Regions from separate parts of the Homo sapiens genome. Here region 2 is linked to region 1. Evidence: promoter capture Hi-C in 16 types of primary human blood cells and fetal thymus (Javierre and others, 2016). All regions are on one chromosome and are shown on one strand. The core of a region is centred on a gene start or on the middle of the fragment in contact, and the rest is flanking DNA. Distances in the headings are between cores, read along the strand shown.

Region 1 (5,609 bases), core at 2,266-4,765:
GCCAAAGGAGATGTCCAAGAGCCAACATCCAGATGGGAAGTATTGAACAAAAACTTGTTTTATATACTAAGGTGAGCATGTGGAAATGTTTTTCCATTTTATAAAAACGTTACGGCCTAATGTTGCAACAAAGTCGAACTGCAAACATCACAAAGAAACCTCAGAGCAATGTCTGAGTTCTGGAAGGAAATAAATTGGAACATACCCTTATTATCCTGGCAGCCTCCAAAAGGATTCGGCAACGCTCCATGCCAGATTTTTGACTCCATATTTTAAAAGCAGCCTTTGCATTTTGAACAGCCAAATTTACTTCCTTTTCTCCTGAACATGTGAAAGTAGCTATCACTCGGCCTATAAAGAGCGGAAACATCAGTTTTAACTCAAATTGTTGCCACATATTTAAATAAAATATTATCTATCAATATTCTCTTAGTAGTAGTCTTTTTTTTTTTTTTTTTTTTTTTCTTGAGATGGAGTCTTGCTCTGTCACCCAGGCTGGAGTGCAGTGGCGCGATCTCGGCTCACTGCAACCTCTGCCTCCTGAGTTCAAGCGATTCCCCTGCCTCAGCCTCCTGAGTAGCTGGGACTACCAGTGCACGCCACTACGCCCAGCTAATTTTTTGTATTTTTTAGTAGAGACCGGGTTTCACCATGTTGACCAGGATGGTCTTGATCTCCTGACCTTGTGACCCACCCGCCTCAGCCTCCCGAAGTGCCGGAATTACAGGCGTGGGCTACCGTAACTTCTTGTTTTTATGTATGGTTTGATTTAGTGACCATCTCTATACTAGCAGGTTTTTTTGTTTTGTTTTTTTGTTTTTTAAGACGGAGTCTCGCTCTTGTTACCCAGGCTGGAGTGCAATGGCACGATCTTGACTCACTGCAACTTTTGCCTCCTGGGTTCCAGCAATTCTCCTGCCTCAGCCTCCCGAGTAGCTGGGATTACAGGCGCCTGCCACCACACACAGCTAATTTTTGTATTTTTAGTAGAGACGGGATTTCATCATGTTGGCCAGGCTGGTCTTACATTCCTGACCTCAAGTGATTCACCCACCTCTGCCTCCCCAAGTGCTGGGATTACAGCCATGAGCCACCACACCCGGCCTAGCAGTTCTTAACTGTATTTTGCGGTCATTGACATTAGGAGTCTGATAAAAGTTGCAGACCTCTCTCCAGAAAAATCTACTTAAACATATAACAGAATTACAGGAATGTCATGTCCCCTGCCCTAAACTCATCAAGGATTTAGAGTTAAGAACCCCTGCCCTCTACTATTTTACAGTTGAGTTTACTAACATTAACTTCTGATTAAGTTTTGCAACACTCCTAAACATTATCTCAGAATCTCAGGGGTCTTGTAAAATGAAAGTCAAAAGTAATCAGTCTATTGGGTTATAAACTCTGACTGTAAATCCCTTGTCTATATTCTATGTAGGTTATATCATACTACTTGATACTTGATAAATATAGTTAATAAGCAGTAATATCAGGATAAGGCAACCCTAAAGGAACATTTTTTTTTTCTCAAAAATTCCCAGATTTCCTTTTCTTATTCCACCTTTATTCCCTCTCCCTATTCTGGTGCAAATTATGAAACAATCAGTTTTTCTAGGCCCATAGCCCAAGGACTGTACTGCCTCTACCAACAAGAATTCTTTAAGTTTGCCAACTCAGCAAATCCTCTTCACAAGAACTCCTGGGACTCTTTCCAGGGAGATTTCACAAATCTGCAATTTCTGTTACAAACTTGAATAGCCAGCTGGTAAAGGCGGTGGCTGAGGATCACACACACTGTAGGCAATTAAAGCAAAGAGCAATTTTTCTTTCTTTTGTATCAGGATTAAGTCGGGGTAGAGAAGCTGTTTCCTCCTATATAAAGAAGAGATGTGATAATGCCTTCTGGCTCTGCCAAGTCACTGCTCTGTGGTTTAGTGTGGATGGTCAAATACTAAATTCTCCAGTCCCCTGCAAATCAGTTTTATTGCTCTGGCTACATTTTACACAAAATATTTACATTTTTCTCCCCACATATATTCCATAAAACCCAGCAAAATAAACACAACACAAAACCAAAACAAAAAGCCCCTTCTTCCTTATCTCTGTGACCTTCAGAGTTCCCAGAGTAAATCCAGTGCCTAGCACAGTGCTTAGCACACATTAAGCACTGGATTAAAAAGTTTTATTTCAGCAAGATGAATAAATTGTGGAGAGCTCACGTAGACCATGGTGACTATGGTTACCAATACTGCATCATATACTTGAAATTTGCTAAAAGAATAGATCTTAAATATTTCACTATCCAAAAAAAGCCATTAACTATGCAGAAGCAATGGATAATTAGATTGACCGTGGTAACCATTTTGCAAGGTATACATACATTACAACACGTTTTACACCTTAAGTATATACAATTTTTATTTGTTAATTATACTTCAATAAAGCTGGGGAAGAAAGTACTGAATAAAGGTGGGGTTTTTTCCTTTCCCAATTCTGATTAATGTGCAGAAATATTTTAATATTAGAATGTGGAGACAAAGTCCTCATTCGTAGTCATTAGAAACTATCTGTGAGCGTTCCTTCATTCCCAGCACAAATGATTATCTTCCCCACAACCCCGCCCCGTTCTTTTAGAATTCCTCTCCTATGCACACATTTGAAGACAATAATACATCAGTCCTGGTTTTAAAAGGGGGAACAGTTGGCTGGGCTTGGTGGCTCACGGCTGTAATCCCAGCACTTTGGGAGGCTGAGGCGGGAGGATCACCTAAGCTCAGGAGTTCGAGACCAGCCTGAGTAACATGCTGAAAACCCGTCTCTACTAAAAATACAAAAATTAGCCGGACATGGTGGTGGGAGCCTGTAATCCCAGCTACCAGGGAGGCTGAGGCGGGAGAAGCACTTGAGCCCGTAAGGTAGAGGGCGCAGTGAGCTCTGAGATGGTGCCCCTGCACTCCAGCCTGGGCGACAGAGTGAGACCCTGTCTCAAAACAAACAAAAAACAAACAAACAAACAAAACAAACAAAAAAGGAAGTTAACAGAGGCACGACTTCCCCCACCAGTACTTTGCGAACTCTGTTCTGGCCCGGGTAAAACAACTCACGATCCTACCACGCAACTCATCAGCTTTGCTTTTCCTCCCTACCCATCCCTGCCCGGAGGCACTCGCGTTGCCCCAGAATCGCTAGTTGCCTACACACACAACCTTAGACTCTCCACTGTCACTGTCTTGTGCTCAAGTCAACGCTGCAGAACACAGGAAACGGGGGCTGGCCGGGAAATCCGCGCATCCGGCCCCAGGGCGCCCCAGCCTCCCCGGCTCGTTGCAGTTACCGGTTGCTGGCTCGAAAGCTTTCTCGGTACCGGAGGCGTCCGCCGGCTCCACGCGGGCCCCGCCGCGGTAATTGAGCGGCTGCGACACGACGAAGGTGCCAGTGCTCATGGCGGCGACAGGAGAGGGCCGAAGACTGCGAAGAAGCGGGGAGAGCGCGGCCAGGCCTGCTCGGAGAAACATGAGTGGCGGACGCAGCTCCGCGGCAGAGGCTGACGGGCCGCGGGAGGGGCGGGGCCGCGGGAGGGGCGGGGCCGCGGGATCGGTTCTAGGAGATTTTAGGGGCAGTCACTCGATTCCTCTGCGGTCCAGGCCAGGCCCTCCCCTCGCCAGGAGGGTGGAGCAAGACACCACATTCTCCCCACCACCCCGCCATACCCCACACAGTCTCCAGGCGGGAAGAGGACTTCCTTCTTCGTGATCAATATTTGCGTAGCACTTTGCAAGTGTTTTCGGGTTCATCATTGCATGTAAGCATCCTAGGATCCCATTCTTAATCCTATCGCCTGAAGAAGGCAGAGGATTGGAGTGCCAAGAGTCTTTGGTGGTTACTTCACTGCTAAACCACCGTTTCTGTAATTGTATAATGCTTTTTAAAGGGTGACAGTAAAAAGCAAGGGGACTGTGAACGAGATAGATGATATTGTGATCTGAAACTGCTTTTTAAATTCTTAAAGAGAGACTGGGCGCTGTGGCTCTCACCAAGGCTGGAGGATCGCTTGAGCCCAGGAGTTTGCGGGCAACAGAGAGAGATCCCGTGTCTATAAAAAAATAAAATAAAAATAATAAAAATTGGGCCGGGCGCGGTGGCTCACGCCTGTAATCCTAGCACTTTGGGAGGCCAAGGCGGGCAGATCACCTGAGGTCAGGAGTTCGAGACCAGCCTGACCAAAATGGTAAAACCCCGTCTCTACTAAAAATACAAAAATTAGCTGGGTGTGGTGGCGGGCGCCTGTAATCCCAGCTACTTGGGAGGCTGAGGTGGGAAAATCGCTTGAACCCGGGAGACGGGTTGCAGTGAGCCGAGACTATGCCATTGCACTCCAGTCTGGGTGACAAGAGTGAAACTCAGAAAAAAAAAAAATTATCCAGGTGTGGTGGCACACGCCTGTGGCCCCAGGTACTTGGGCGGCTAAGGTGGGAGGATCCCCTGAGCCCCGGGGGTCCAAGCTTGCAGTGAGCTATAATCGTGCCACTGCACTCAGGCCTGGGCAACAGAGCGAGACCCTGTCTCAAAATAAATAAATTCTGAAGGAGCAATGTAAATGCTATTAATGACAAATATTGATAGAAACAGAAGCCTAACATACAGAATACGAAGAGCAAAGGCCACAGGAAAAAGTGTCAGGAAACAAAATGCCTTCTGTAAGACAAAGCAGCCACCCAGAGGCACTCACAGGTCTGTCAGCTGAGGGATCTTGCACAAAGGTTCATTCTTCTCACCAAACTTCCATGCACCTCCAGTAGAGACTTTGACAAACAGAAAGTAATTGGCAATTTGGACATTTCTTTTAGGATTGTTTCTCTTCTGGGGGCTGCTGTCTTTCTCAATGTTTTTTCCTTTACCTGCCAGCTCACCAGCGCAATATTAGGGAGTGTGGTTTTCAGGTTTAGAGTATATATAATGTATTCTGATCAAGTTTTCTGGCACTCTATACCAGTTTGTTCACTTTTTCAGTGCTACTGAGATGTGTAGGTCTTGGTCCTCAGATGGAAACAGCAGTGCCCAAACTCAGAATACCTGAGGCCACACTCACATATTATTTTATTATTGTCCATTGCAAACAGAATTGAAACATATCAGGAGTTGGTGACGAGCAGCACTATAGATTTCCAAGATCACTGAATGGTCATTTAGGTACAGAAACTATACGTCTCAAATTTTATGGGACAATTTCTATTTAAAAGATTCTGTCCCCAACCAATGCATTTTGACTTGTCACATCATAATTCCTGATGTTTGTTTTGGAAATGTGGTCGTGATGTCTATTGAATTAATTCATAGATGATAAGACTGACAAACCTCTGGCCAGGCACAGGACTCACACCTGTAATCTCAACACTTTGGGAGACCGTGGCAGGAGGATCGCTTGAGGCCAGGAGTTCAAGACCAGCCTGGGCAACATAGTGAGACTCTGTCTCTACAAAATATTTTTAAAAATTAGCCGAGCATGGTGGCACAAGCGTGTAGTCCTGACTACTCAAGAGACTGAGGTGGAGGATTGCTTGAGGCCAGGAGTTCAAGACTGGAGTGAGCGATCATGGCACCACTGCTCCAGC
Region 2 (5,609 bases), core at 2,088-4,587, 2.0 Mb after region 1:
ATAACAATGATGCAGAAAGACTGACAATAACAAAACTCAGAATATTGATTGCTTCATTGACAGTGGGAAATATCCCTATTTGGTAGGAGGAATGCCTGCGCTATCTGTCCAGGCACATGCTTCCCTAGAATTAGGTCCTTGGGAAGCAGATGTAGTACACAGATGGTTGCAGGGCCCAGGAAAACAGTGTATCTTGAGGAAAATTTTATCCCAGCTACAGTGAATTTAGAAGTCTGACAGCACAGCCTTCTCCTGTAAGAATTAACACCTCCCTAAGGACCCTTTTACCCTCGTTCCCCCAATTTGGTGTCTCTGTGCCAAGGGGAAGGAGACACTAGAACTCTAATTTTCCAATTTTCAAAAATTTCTAGCAGCAATGCTTCTGGATTAAGACATTCTTTGTGAAACTGATTTGGCTTCAGGCGAATCTTTCTCAAGGTGGCCTGGGATTCCTCTTTGAATCTATCTGATTTGTTATCTGCGAGGAGTCAAATTCTCAGGGTTCCTGGGACACCACCCACATTCCAATTTTCCTCTGGCAACAGATCTTGAAGACAAAGACAGACAGGCTAGAAATTGGGACTCTTTTTCTCTTGATTATACTTCTCATCCAATTTATACCCAGTCCTGTAATTCTTTTCGTGAAATGTCTCTCAAATCCTGTCTTCTCATCCCCACTATCAATACCTTATTTCCTGCTCTCTTCATTCTTGCCCTGCTGCAGTGGTTACCTTTTTAAAACACAGATCCGAACTTCTTACACCCCTTTCACCACTCTCCACTGCCTCCAGAAAAAACACAACTCAAGGCTCTTCAAAATATGACCGCAGCCTCCTTTCCTGGCATTCTCTCTTCCCCTCTTTCCCTCACTCCCCTCAAGTTGCAAACCACAAAGGATTCACCTAATGTTTCTCACACTTGGTAGGTGATTTCTTTTCTCTGAATGTGCTTTTCCTGTTTTCTCCGTTCTCTGAGTTTGCTTTTCCTGTTTTCTCTCTGGTGAATTATTCATCTTTTAAAGTTCACCTTAAATGTTTTATCCTTGGTGAATCTTTCTAGATGCTTCTTGGGCCAGTGGATTTTAGGAGAGCGAGGTATATGTGGCTGAGGTACATCACAATCAGCAGAGAAGCTTTAAACACTGCTGAGAGTCACTGTCCCTGCTGGCCTTGGGTTTCTTCTTTATTCACTCTTCCTTTTTTTGAGACGGAGTCTCGCCCTGTCGCCCAGGCTGGAGTGCAATGGCGCGTGATCTCGTCTCACTGCAACCTCTGCCTCCCAGGTTCTGTAGCAGGATGAGCCGCAGACAAAACTCCTCAGACACGGAGTTAAAGAAGGAAGGGGTTTATTCGGCCGGAAGTATCGGCAAGCCTCCTGTCTCAAGAGCCTAGCTCCCCGAGTGAGCAATTCCTGTCCCTTTTAAGGGCTCACAACTCTAAGGGGGTCCGCGTGAGAGGGTCATGATCAATTGAGCAAGCAGAGGGTACTGTGAATGGGGGCTGCATGCACCGGTAATCAGAACGAAACAGAACAGGACAGGGATTTTTACAATGCCTTTCCATATAATGTCTGGAATCCATAGATAACATAACCGGTTAGGTCAGGGGTCGATCTTTAACTACCGGGCTTAGGTCAGGCAGGCCCAGGCCTGGTTTCGGGTCTGGTTCTTAGGCGCCGGGTTACCTGCCTTTAATTTCGCTTCTCTTTCCTTTTCTGAGTATAAAACTATATGAGAGGTTCTGTCTCTCTTCTCTCAGTTCAAGCGATTCTCCTGCCTCAGCCACCCGAGTAGCTGGGTACAGTCACGCGCCACCCATGCCCGGCTAATTTTTTTGTATCTTTTAGTAGAGATGGGGTTTCACTACGCTGGCCAGGCTGGTCTCAAACTCCTGACCTCGTGATCTGCCCGCCTCGGCCTCCCGAAGTGCTGGGATTACAAGTGTGAGCCACCGCACCCGGCCCTCATTTTTACAAATGTAATTGAGTACTTGTTTGTGTACACTAGTAGACGATGTGCTTCTTGAGAGTAAAGCCCAGGTGTTCTACATCCATGGTTCAATTAATGCATTGGTATCTTTTCCAACCTATGGCATTTGAGATACAACTTCAAAAGGATCTGCTGACAGAAATAGGGCAAAGTGGTTCTGGTATTTTTTTTTTTTAAGTTTTTTTCTCACTAATGTTCTTATGATTTCGCTGTACTGCAATGTTAGCTGAAACAGCACAGATATCAGGAATGGCATTGTTAAGACTGACCTTAGACAAAAACCCTGAAGTGAGAGGTTACATTTTGGGTTCTCACCATACTCTTCCCCCGCTCTTGTCCTAATTGTCTAAAGCTTGCTTCCCTTCCTCATCGTATCAGCCTCCCACCTGAATCTTCCCTTTTCCTCCTTCACACTCATCTTTCTTGTGCCCCTGTCCCCCATTTTTCCCTTTTGTAAGCCATTTTCATAAGGATCCTTCCAAATATTTCCCCTATTGATTGGACAACCCGTAGGTGGCAGACTGTTCTGGGCCAAGGCAACCAAGTTGAGCAGGGCCAGCAATCAGTGTCGGGAACTTCTGCAGGGCACTTCAGAATCAGTGTTGGGAACTTCTGCTTTCTATTTTTCACGGACACAGACAGGAACACAGATATGCGAAAGCAAAACAATCAAAAAGCATTTTCATTTGTTTTTCAGGTAGTAGGAAAGAGTTCCAGATTCCCATCCTTCTGAAGCCAGGAGGGAGGTTCCTAAGAGGAGGTTAGGGCAAGATGGAGACTTCTTTTTAAACTAGTAGATTTCGCAAATTGCAACACATACATTATCTAGTCCACGCAAAGGACAGGCCTTGGGGACACGGCACGGGGAACGTGTTCCACCTGGACGACTGAATCAGAAGTCTCTCCCCCATCAATTGAACGCCTCATTATTTTTCTTTCTGTCTTTTCTTTCTTTTTAAGGTAAATGAATTGCTTCTTTTTCGTTAGGTGAGGCCGGCAGAGAACAAGAAGAGCTGAAACGGAGGCGAGGTTAGTACCCAGCAAAGACCTGTGGCGAGGAGAGACAATGAAGAGGACCACGGGACTGGACCCTGAGAAAGGCAGAGGAGACGCTGGCTGGTGGGGCCCGCAGGCGGACAGCCACGCAGGCAGGCGGAAGGCTCGGCTCGGCCTGGGACCGCTGCAGACCCGGCCTCCGCGCGGGGCCGAGGCGCCTGGGTGGGACCGAGGAGGCGGGGCCTTCCCGGCGGACGGATGATGGACAGCCTGACTCTCCAATCGCGTCCTTAAAAGGGTGCGGGCAGGCCAATGAGCGGACAGCGAGGGCCGGAGTGGGGCTGAGGCTTCGGTGCAGAGCTGGAGAGCCGCGGCTGGGACCGGAGTGGGGAGCGCGGCGTGGAGGTGCCACCCGGCGCGGGTGGCGGAGAGATCAGAAGCCTCTTCCCCAAGCCGAGCCAACCTCAGCGGGGACCCGGGCTCAGGGACGCGGCGGCGGCGGCGGCGACTGCAGTGGCTGGACGATGGCAGCGTCCGCCGGAGCCGGGGCGGTGATTGCAGCCCCAGACAGCCGGCGCTGGCTGTGGTCGGTGCTGGCGGCGGCGCTTGGGCTCTGTAAGTGATGCCAGGACCAGGGCTGGGGCCGGGGAGTGGGGCCCCCGGGCCCGACACACGCCCATCGCGGCGGTCGCAGGCCAGGCGCGCGCACTGAGAGCCGAGGTGGGGAGGGGGCGCGGCCTGCGCTCTCTGGGGCCGAGGGGACCCAGCCCATGGGGAACGCGGGCCTCCGCGACTGGCCGGGAAGGCGCAGAGCCTCTTTCTTCTCTTTCCTGGATCCTGGAGTGCGGAGGAGGAGGGGAGAGTGCTTTACCTTGCTCCTTCCCGGGGGGCGGTCCAGGGGAGCGGACCCGGCGGGCGGCTGCGGTGAGCCCTCGCGGCGCACCCTGCCCTCTCCTCGTGGTGACTCTGGATCGTCTAGGCCCTCCCGGATTCTGACTCAGGAACTAGGGTTCTGGCGTTCTTCACCTTTGGGAGGTGGCGGAAAGTTGCAGGTTTTTCATTTGTAGGGCCTTTGTTGATTTGTTTCCTGTTAAGCCAGGGTTTTGTTGTAAGTTCCCTTTCCCATGCTCTCATTCAGTTTTAAGTCTCCGTAATAAAAGAGTCTCATTTCCGTGGTCTGCAAAACGCCAATAAAAAAATATTGTTACTTCTAGGTTAGAATGCAAAGAGCTTGGAATACCAGTGAGATGGCCTGGCTTAAAAGAATTTGGTCAAATCCATCATAATTCCAGACGTAGCCACCATAATTTGACAAGACATAGAGCATTAAAAAGCATAATTTTCCTAAAGGAAAAAAAAAGCTCCTTTTTCTTACCAAATATTGTGACTCAAGCTTAAGGTAAACCTCGGGCTCAATTTATGGGAATTGGATGACTTGTTTTATGGACATCTGAAGTGGTATCTGCCACAGGACTTTTCTGTGTTGTTGTTCAAAGCAAAGTACTTGTTGCTGTCTCCGAATTTAGTTAAATAATAGTTATAAAGAGGGCCAGCTGCTAAGAAACCACGTAGATTTTTTTCATTCCCTTTGTTTTCAAAATGTCAGTTATGATTTAGCATCACAGTATCTGAATACCAGAGTTTACTCAGTAATTTCTTTCTTCATGGAAAAGTTCTTAATATAATCCTTGGATCAGGGAAACTAGGTGAAGTTCTGTTGGATCACCAACTGTTCCACTTAAACAGTGATTCCAGGGGCTGTAAAGCATAAATGTAAAAGTCTCCCTACCCTCCAGGGGTTGACAGATGATGACACACTTTGTGTAAGACACAATCCATTCTGTATTTTGTCTTAGAAAAAAAGGTTAAAAGTGTGTTTGTTGGTGGTGGTATTTGTGTTTAATCAAACAAGTAGAAAATAGCCTAAAATTAAGGTTTATCAGAAATATGCTTCAGACAGAATTGTTATGCATGAGAGGTCAGACATTGCTATGGAGGACAAAGCAGTTAGGGTGATCTTAATTAAAATCAGGGTATTAAACGTAGAAGGAGTGCAAAACTACATAGTAGTGAAAAGATCACTAGAGTAATAGCCCCATACAACTTGGACGTAACTCTTCAGTAATGAAGATGAATGTTGATATGTAAAAATCAGCAGCTGATGTTATTGGTTCAACTTAGAAAATTATTGAATCTAAAATTCTTGCCAAATCACCTCTTTTCTGGTCATGGATACTGCACATAAGAGTTTATCTTTTACAGGATAGCTTCTAAAGTTTTATCAAGACAGTTACTCAGCAAACATTCACTGAGCACCTTTTAAGTGCTTAACACTTAAAAGGTGGGAGGTTAGGTCTCACTGTGTTGCCCAGGCTGCTCTGGAACTGAAACTCCTGGGCTCCAGTGATTCCTCTGCCTTTTCCTCGCAAGCAGCTGGGGCTACAGGTGTGTGCCACTGTGTAGGGTCAGAAGCACATTGGTAAAGATGTACTGTGGGAGCTTGAAGGAGGGTCATTATCTCAGACTGTAGTTCAGGCTACTGGAGGAAGGGAGTTTAAACTGGGTAGGCATGGGGGAGGGGCAGAAGTACATACAGAGTTATGAATGAACCTGTTGGTAGTTCAGT

The links. Contacts are between HindIII fragments. The CHiCAGO score rates a contact against its expected background, and 5 or more counts as called.
Region 2: the fragment with the promoter of MPZL1 here is called in contact with the fragment with the promoter of ALDH9A1 in region 1 in 3 of 17 cell types (fetal thymus, activated CD4 T cells and total CD8 T cells); the score reaches 10.6 in fetal thymus.

The regions. Positions count from the first base shown.
Region 1 is chr1:165,695,047-165,700,655 of GRCh38, forward strand. ALDH9A1 (aldehyde dehydrogenase 9 family member A1) reads right to left here and starts at 3,516. Exons shown (of 11, transcript NM_000696.4): 1 at 3,332-3,516; 2 at 206-351. The coding sequence starts at 3,512. It also overlaps the pseudogene CA14P1. RefSeq lists enhancers at 3,252-3,481, 3,325-3,907, 3,772-3,951 and a silencer at 3,512-3,701. The HindIII fragment of the contact is 1,150 bases long and covers 3,348-4,497 here.
Region 2 is chr1:167,718,645-167,724,253 of GRCh38, forward strand. It overlaps MPZL1 (myelin protein zero like 1), which reads left to right and starts at 3,338. Exons shown (of 6, transcript NM_003953.6): 1 at 3,338-3,598. The coding sequence starts at 3,508. RefSeq lists enhancers at 940-1,439, 3,666-4,166 and silencers at 2,978-3,347, 3,738-3,807, 3,838-3,977. The HindIII fragment of the contact is 2,037 bases long and covers 2,338-4,374 here.